2 separate regions of the Homo sapiens genome follow, and region 1 is linked to region 2. Evidence: promoter capture Hi-C in human tissues and cell types (Jung and others, 2019). All regions are on one chromosome and are shown on one strand. The core of a region is centred on a gene start or on the middle of the fragment in contact, and the rest is flanking DNA. Distances in the headings are between cores, read along the strand shown.

Region 1 (3,402 bases), core at 456-2,955, 54 kb before region 2:
TCTGATTTTTTTTTTTTTTTTTTTTTTTTTTGAGACAGAGTCTTGCTCTGTCACCAGGCTGGAGTGCAGTGGCGTGATCTCGGCTCACTGCAACCTCCCCCTCCCAGGTTCAAGCAATTCTCCTGCCTCAGCCTCCTGAGTAGCTGGGACTACAGGCACGTGCCACCACACCAAGCTAATTTTTTGTATTTTTAGTAGAGACAGGGTTTCACCATGTTGGCCAGGATGGTCTTTATTTCTTAACCTCGTGATCCGCCCGCCTAGGCCTCCCAAAGTGCTGGGATTACAGGCGTGAGCCACCGTGCCCGGCCAATTCTCTGATAATTTTTATAAATTCAAAACTACGGTCAGTGAAAGAACACTAAGTTAGTTATTGTCTGTCATTCACTCTTATCCAAACTCTAAATTGTTGATGAGTTTACAAGTCTTTTCTTGAGGATTTTTTTTTCTCCTTATAATAGTAATAGCTAACATTGATAGTTTTTTGTGTATAATTCTGCTCCTCAAAAGATCCTATGAGATAAGAACTATTATTTTTCTCCATTTACAGCTGAAAAAACAGACTTAGACATGTAATTTTCCTCAAGGCTTACAGCTAGAAAGTGGCAAAGGTAAAATTAGAACACAGAGCCTGAAAGCAAACTATCTATATGCTTTGGCATAGTGGTTATTAACAGAAGCTTCCCAGGAGAATATAACATCCTAACCCAAGTGTTCTTATTTTTAATGCTCTCATACATGCTTAGAAAAACAAGAGAAACCATCAGGGATTAATATTGCAGCATATTTCATATTCATTCATTCCTGCATTCATATCAGAAGGCAGTAATGAATAAGGGGGAAGGTTCTAAAGTCACATCACATAGATTAAAATCCTAATTCCACCATATTCTTAGCTATGTAACTTTAAACATTACTTAAATTCTCTAAGTTCAATTTTCTCAACTAAAAAAACAGAAGTGGTAATATAATTACCATCATCACCATACTGGGTTCTCCCGAAGATTTAGAGATAATGTGTGAACACACATAGCAATGGACCTGGTACATACGAATTCTCGAAAAAAGTAGCTATTAAAATAACTATTCAAAATGTTCTGAGGCCCTACACCTACTGGACTCTGGGCAGAGCACTGGGTGCTAGGACTGTACCATATACAGGACAAGGCTGTCCCTGCCCTCCTAGATCTTGTAGTCTCTATTGGGGGAGTAGACAATAAAGAAGAAAACAAAAGAAGGAAACATATAAATGAAGTGCTATTGAGGGGGTAAAGCCAGCTGGACTTCCTGGGTCGAGTGGGGACTTGGAGAACTTCTTTGTCTTACAGGAGGATTGTAATATGCACCAATCAGCACTCTGTAGCCAGGATTGTAAAACGCACCAATCGGCACCCTGTAGCTAGCTAGAGGTTTGTAAAACGCACCAATCAGCACTCTGTAGCTAGCTAGAGGTTTGTAAAATGGACCAATCAGCACCCTGTAAAATGGACCAATCAGCAGGACATGGACAGGGACAAATAAGGGAATAAAAGCTAGCCACCCCAGCCAGTAGCAGCAACCCACTCGTGTTCCCTTCCAGGTTGTGGAAGCTTTGTTTTTTCGCTCTTCACAATAAATCTTGCTGCTACTCACTCTTTAGGTCCATGCCATCTTTAAGAGCTGTAACACTCACCACAAAGGTCCGCAGCTCCTTTCTTGAAGTCAGCAAGACCACAGACCTACCAGAAGGAATGAACTCCGGACACACTATGAATTTTAGTGAAGTGCAAGCAATAAATGCACATGTGCTGAGATAGAGGACAATGGGGAGGAAGCTACTATAGAAGTGGTGATCAGGGAAGGCCCCTCTGAGGAGGAGATGTTTTAGCTGAGACTGGACGTTTAAGGATCTTTCTATGAGACAAGTGGAGGTCTTGAAGAGCCTGTACAGAAGAGGAGAATACGGCATGTTTGAGGAACTGAAGGTGTTCAATCTGACAAGCATGGCAAACAAGGAGGGGAGCCTGGAGAGGGAGCACGTCAGAGTAAGTGTGGATGCGAGTCCAAGTGCAGTGGAAGCCACCAAGCAGGGGGGTGGCATGCTTGGGTTTACTCTTTAGTAGGATCACTCTGGCTGCTGTGAGGAAAATGTGCTAGAAGAAAGCAACAGTGGAAGCTGGGAGACCAACCAGGAGACAGGGAATCATCCATCTGAGAGAGGTGGGTAGGTGAATTAGGAAGATGGAAAAAAGGGAGGGTTTGAGATATTCTAGAGGCTAGGCCAAAAAGCCATACAGATGGGTTGCATGTGGAGTGAGGAAATGAGAAGAATCACAGACAACTTTCAGGTGTCCAGCCTGAACAATGAATAGACAGTACTAACTAACAGTGAGACGGAAGGCTGAAGGGGAGAGTAAGGAAGGGTCAGGAATGAGGAATACAAATTTCGAAGCTTGAGAGGGAGATTGAGAGATCAGTTCTGAACCTGTGAAATTTGAGATCACTGGGACAGGAAGGTGGTAGCTAAAACTGCAAGTCTGGAACCAGAGAAAGGGTGGGGAGACGTAACAGAAAGAGTCATCTGCATCCAGGGGGTTCTAGGGTCCTGGGAATTGATGAGATCATTTAGAGAGAGAATATGATGAGAGAAGGGAGGTAGCAGAGCCAGAAAAGAAAAGAAATAATCAAAAATCACGTTGATAATTTAAAACTGAACATGGTAACACAGCCCACACAAACATAGAACTGGCTCAAATACATGCTCAATCAATACCTGTGGAACAAGTAAAAATAAATTCTTAACACATACTTTTAGGCCTTTTTTTTTTTTTTTTTTTTTTGAGATGGAGTCTCACTCTGTCGCCCAGGCTGGAGTGCAGTGGCGAGATCTCAGCTCACTGCAGGCTCCGCCTCCTGGGTTCACGCCATTCTCCTGCCTCAGCCTCCCAAGTAGCTGGAACTACAGGCGCCCGCCAACACACCTGGCTAATTTTTGTATTTTTAGTAGAGACGGGGTTTCACCGTGTTAGCCAGGATGGTCTCGATCTCCTGACCTCGTGATCTGCCCGCCTTGGCCTCCCAAAGTGCTGGGATTACAGGCATGAGCCACCACGCCCAGCCTCCTTTTAGGCCTTTAAGAAAATAATTTTCATTTAGGATTCCCCCCTTACCACCACCACTACCAACTTCTTGTATATTTGGAGGATAAGAAAAACAAGTTTTTGAAGGTCTCTGTTTGGATTGTGTTCAAGGAGATCCTTTTTCTTAAAAATAAGAAGCAACTGTTTTTTTCCAAAAAGTCACTAAAATGAAAAGTAGTCTACCTGAAATTCAAACCTTTGAAAAGCTTACGCTCACATTACGACTTCTCTGTAAAAATTCTACCCCAAGATACAATTTTCCCATCCTCATAAATTAAAATGC
Region 2 (3,376 bases), core at 708-3,207:
CTCCTTGGCACCCTCTTTTCTGGGGCCGCCTTCTACTCTGGCCTGTATGGGGGCTCAGGTGGGCTCTCTGGAGTCCAAGAAGCCCCTTGTGGAGTTGGCAGCTGCTCTCAGCTGAAGGCAGGACTGGCGCTTGTGCCAGGGGATTCCAAGTGTGTAGGTGAGGAGTGCACTTACGTGACTGTCCCGGGGCACTTGGGCCCCCATCTACACTGCCGGTATTCAGCCTTTACGTAGCTCTCCGCTCCCTCCTGTAGGATGCAGGTCACATTCCTGTGCACCACATAGGCACAGAGGGCCCTACAGGAGAAAATGGCACCCCTGGAATATCTGGCTGAGCGAGGCCCACAGAGGCGCCTACCCTCCCACCTCCATCTGTGGGCCTCAGCAGGACTCCAAACTCCCATGTCTCTTCTGTCTGTTCTCTGTGTCCCTGGGAGCCAACGCCCTTGGTCTGGGGTCCAGCCCCGCTGCTGGTCTCTGATTCCAGCCTCCGTGATGGGTGGCCCCTGGGCTAAGCACTATTTGGAACCAGGAGCCTGATGTGGCTGCCCCTCCCTGCGTGGGGAAGAGGCCAGCCCGGATTCTCCCTCAAGTGCCCTGCCACACCCCCCCATCCTTCGCTGATTCCAAACTCCTTATCTTGGCATTTAAGGCTTCCGAGTCCCCACTCAGTGACTCCTTTGAGAGCACCATGTCTTGTCCTTCCTCCCTGCCTGGCTCCCGGGGAAATCCACCTCTCCTCGTAGTTTTGCAGCCCCTGCCTTTGGTCCTGTTCCCTTACTCTCAGAGCAGTTCTTGTACCACCTCCTCCAGGAGGCTCGCTGTGATGTACCCAGGCCCACTGAGTGTCGGTACTCTTCCTCCTACAACAGCTCTCAAATTCAGCTAGAATTCAAGTTCAGCCAGCACCCCAGGCAGAGCCTCCAGCCCACTTAACTGAGGCCAGTTCGCAAGCCACTGCCCACGAAACACCAGAAGCTGAGGCGGGGAAAGCAGGCTCCTTGATGAGCCACAAGGGCTGAGGAGGTGGCTGCCTGGCATAAGCCGACCGCTGTGGACGGCTGTGCCACAGCACAGGCCCGGAGCCAGGAGCCCGCTCTGGCTCTGCAGCCCGGCCACGCTGGGGCTCCCATGGGGTTGCTGGGGCCAGGCTGACTGCGAGAGGGCAGCGGCCGCCCGGATGCGCAGCTCTATCTCCTACCTGGCCGGGCCAGGGGAGAGAAGGGAGGCCCGGGGCGGGGGAGCCCCGCGTGCTCAGCGCGCGGACCGCCTTTCCTCCTCTCCCTCCACCTGGTCCGCTCGCCCGGAGTCTGCACACAGCGCAGCTGGAAAATGTTACTTCGCTGGAAAGGTTTCCGCTGGCACTGCCAGGATCCCAAGCCGCCGCGCCAGGCCCCCTCGGTTCCTTTTTCCTCGCCAGCCCCGCAACCTCCCGGAGCGTAGGGCGCTCGCCTGGGCAGGGGCTCGGCCCCGGGCGCCGCCCCCTCTGTGCAGCGGCCTCGGGGTGCCCGGGGCCTCGACGCCCCCCGCGGGTGCGGGCAGGTGGGAGCGGCGACGCGCGCGGGCCCATCCCTCCCTCTTCCCGCCCGCCGCCCGCCCGCGCTTACTTGTGCGGCCCCGGGCGCAGCCGCGGGCGCCATCCCGTCGTGTAGAGACTGTAGCGGGAGGCACCGGGCGGCGCAGGCCGCGCCAGGAGCGGGGTGCCCCTGGCCTGCGCCCCCGAGAGCAGCGCCGCGACGGCGCACAGCCAGACGAGCAGGCGGCGGCGGCCCATAGCGGCCCCCGCGCCTCTGCCCGGCCCCGCGCGGTGCCCCCCGCCGGGTGTCCGCCTGCAGCGCCGCGCCGCCCCCGCCGCTGGTCGGCCCGGGTCCCGCCCCGAGGGTCCCGGGGTCCCCTTCGGCCCCCGAGCTCGCTGGCCCGGCCGCCTGGCGCTTCGCGGCGGCTGCGTCCCGCGGAGTGGCCGGCGCTGCTAGCGGCTGGGGCCGCGGAGGGGAGGCGGGAGGCGGGCTCTTTGCGGATTAGCATAAACTTGGGGCCGCGCCGCTCGCCGCCGCCAGCCCCTCGCCCCAGCTCCGAGCGGACGGCCGAGGAGCCGCCTGCGAACAGGAGGTTCCAAAGGGAGCAGCCCCAGGTGGCAGGGGCGCAGGCCGCCGCGCCCTGGGAGGCCCCCCGAGCACACCAGCCACTCTGTCGCCTGCGGGCACGGGGCGAGACGCAGAGAAGCGGACCCCTGAGGCCAGCCTGGGCGTGGACTTTCCAGGAGTCGTCCACCCTCAGGATACGCTTGTCTTCAGAGTCCGTGTGAACCCGGGAACTGCTCTCCAGGGCTCTGGAGCCGAGATGGCCGTGACTGGGGGCACAGCAGCACCACCTCCCCCGCCACCTCTTTGGAATAGACCCCAGATCATCCCCGTTTGCTCGCTCTGCCTCCTGGCCCCATCATTGCCCGGGAACCTTAGTTTGATAACTCCGCTGACCTCTCCCCAGGCATCCCACCTCCCCCTTACCCCGCAACCTCTGCCACGTAGCCTGGTGGCCCGGTTGCACCTCTGGTTCTCTGGAGGCGCCTGTGTTGCCTCTCTGTCTTAGGTATGGGTTGCACCGAGCCCGAAAGGCCTATCACCGCCCCAGCCCAGCCAAAAGTGCTGTGCTTTTCGTGCAACTGAAGCTCTAAGCCGGCTGGTCAGAGAAAATCCTCAGGTCTTTCTCACAAGGCACTGCCGCGGTGAAGCCAGGCGTCGTCCACATTTTGCTTGTGAAGTTGACTCTTGGAACCCAAGAGTTGGGTTTTATCGTCGTCCTCATTCAGTATCACCTTGCTAACTCTCTAACCTGCACAGAGTCCTTCTGATTCTGTCATCAGAGCGGTACTTTCCTGGCCTTGTCTCATCCACACCGGTGGCTACAGCCGTCTGTGTCTTTGCCCCAGGAGCTGATAGGTGTACAGAACTCTGGGGCTTGCTTGGAGAGACCTCCCTCCAAATTGACCTTGAGATATGAATTAATGCCTTTTGGATAGGGTGATGGTTATCAAGGATACTGGAAGGGGCAGCTCCGAAACCCACATCTATTTCCTGCCCTTAGCTTTAGTGGCTTTTGGGTTCTGTGGGGCGGACATCTGACCCCAGCTAGGCCCATCCTGCTTTCCCCCAGGCTTTGGAATCAGAACACAGAAGCTGAAGGAATCCAGCTTCCAGGTGTAGGTTGTGTGAGTTTCTCAGGGCTGTGGTAACAGCCACAGACTCAGTGGCTTAACACACAGAAATGTATTCTTGCACATTTCTGGAGGCTAACTCCAAAATCCATGGGCCAGCAGGGCAATGCCCCCTCCAGTGGCTCTGGGGAGAAGCCTTCCTTGCCTCTTCCAGCCACTGGT

The links. Contacts are between HindIII fragments. The study calls those that stand out against the background at their distance.
Region 1: a fragment that was not itself captured here is called in contact with the fragment with the promoter of EMILIN3 in region 2 in 1 of the 25 tissues and cell types used here (hippocampus).

The regions. Positions count from the first base shown.
Region 1 is chr20:41,310,797-41,314,198 of GRCh38, forward strand. The region is part of intron 1 of ZHX3 (zinc fingers and homeoboxes 3); the gene reads right to left. Among named protein-coding and RNA genes, the nearest start is that of ZHX3, 5.2 kb to the right of the region's middle. The HindIII fragment of the contact is 4,595 bases long and covers 1-3,402 here.
Region 2 is chr20:41,364,861-41,368,236 of GRCh38, forward strand. It overlaps EMILIN3 (elastin microfibril interfacer 3), which reads right to left and starts at 1,958. Exons shown (of 4, transcript NM_052846.2): 1 at 1,608-1,958; 2 at 175-297. The coding sequence starts at 1,774. RefSeq lists an enhancer at 695-1,196. The HindIII fragment of the contact is 32,668 bases long and covers 1-3,376 here.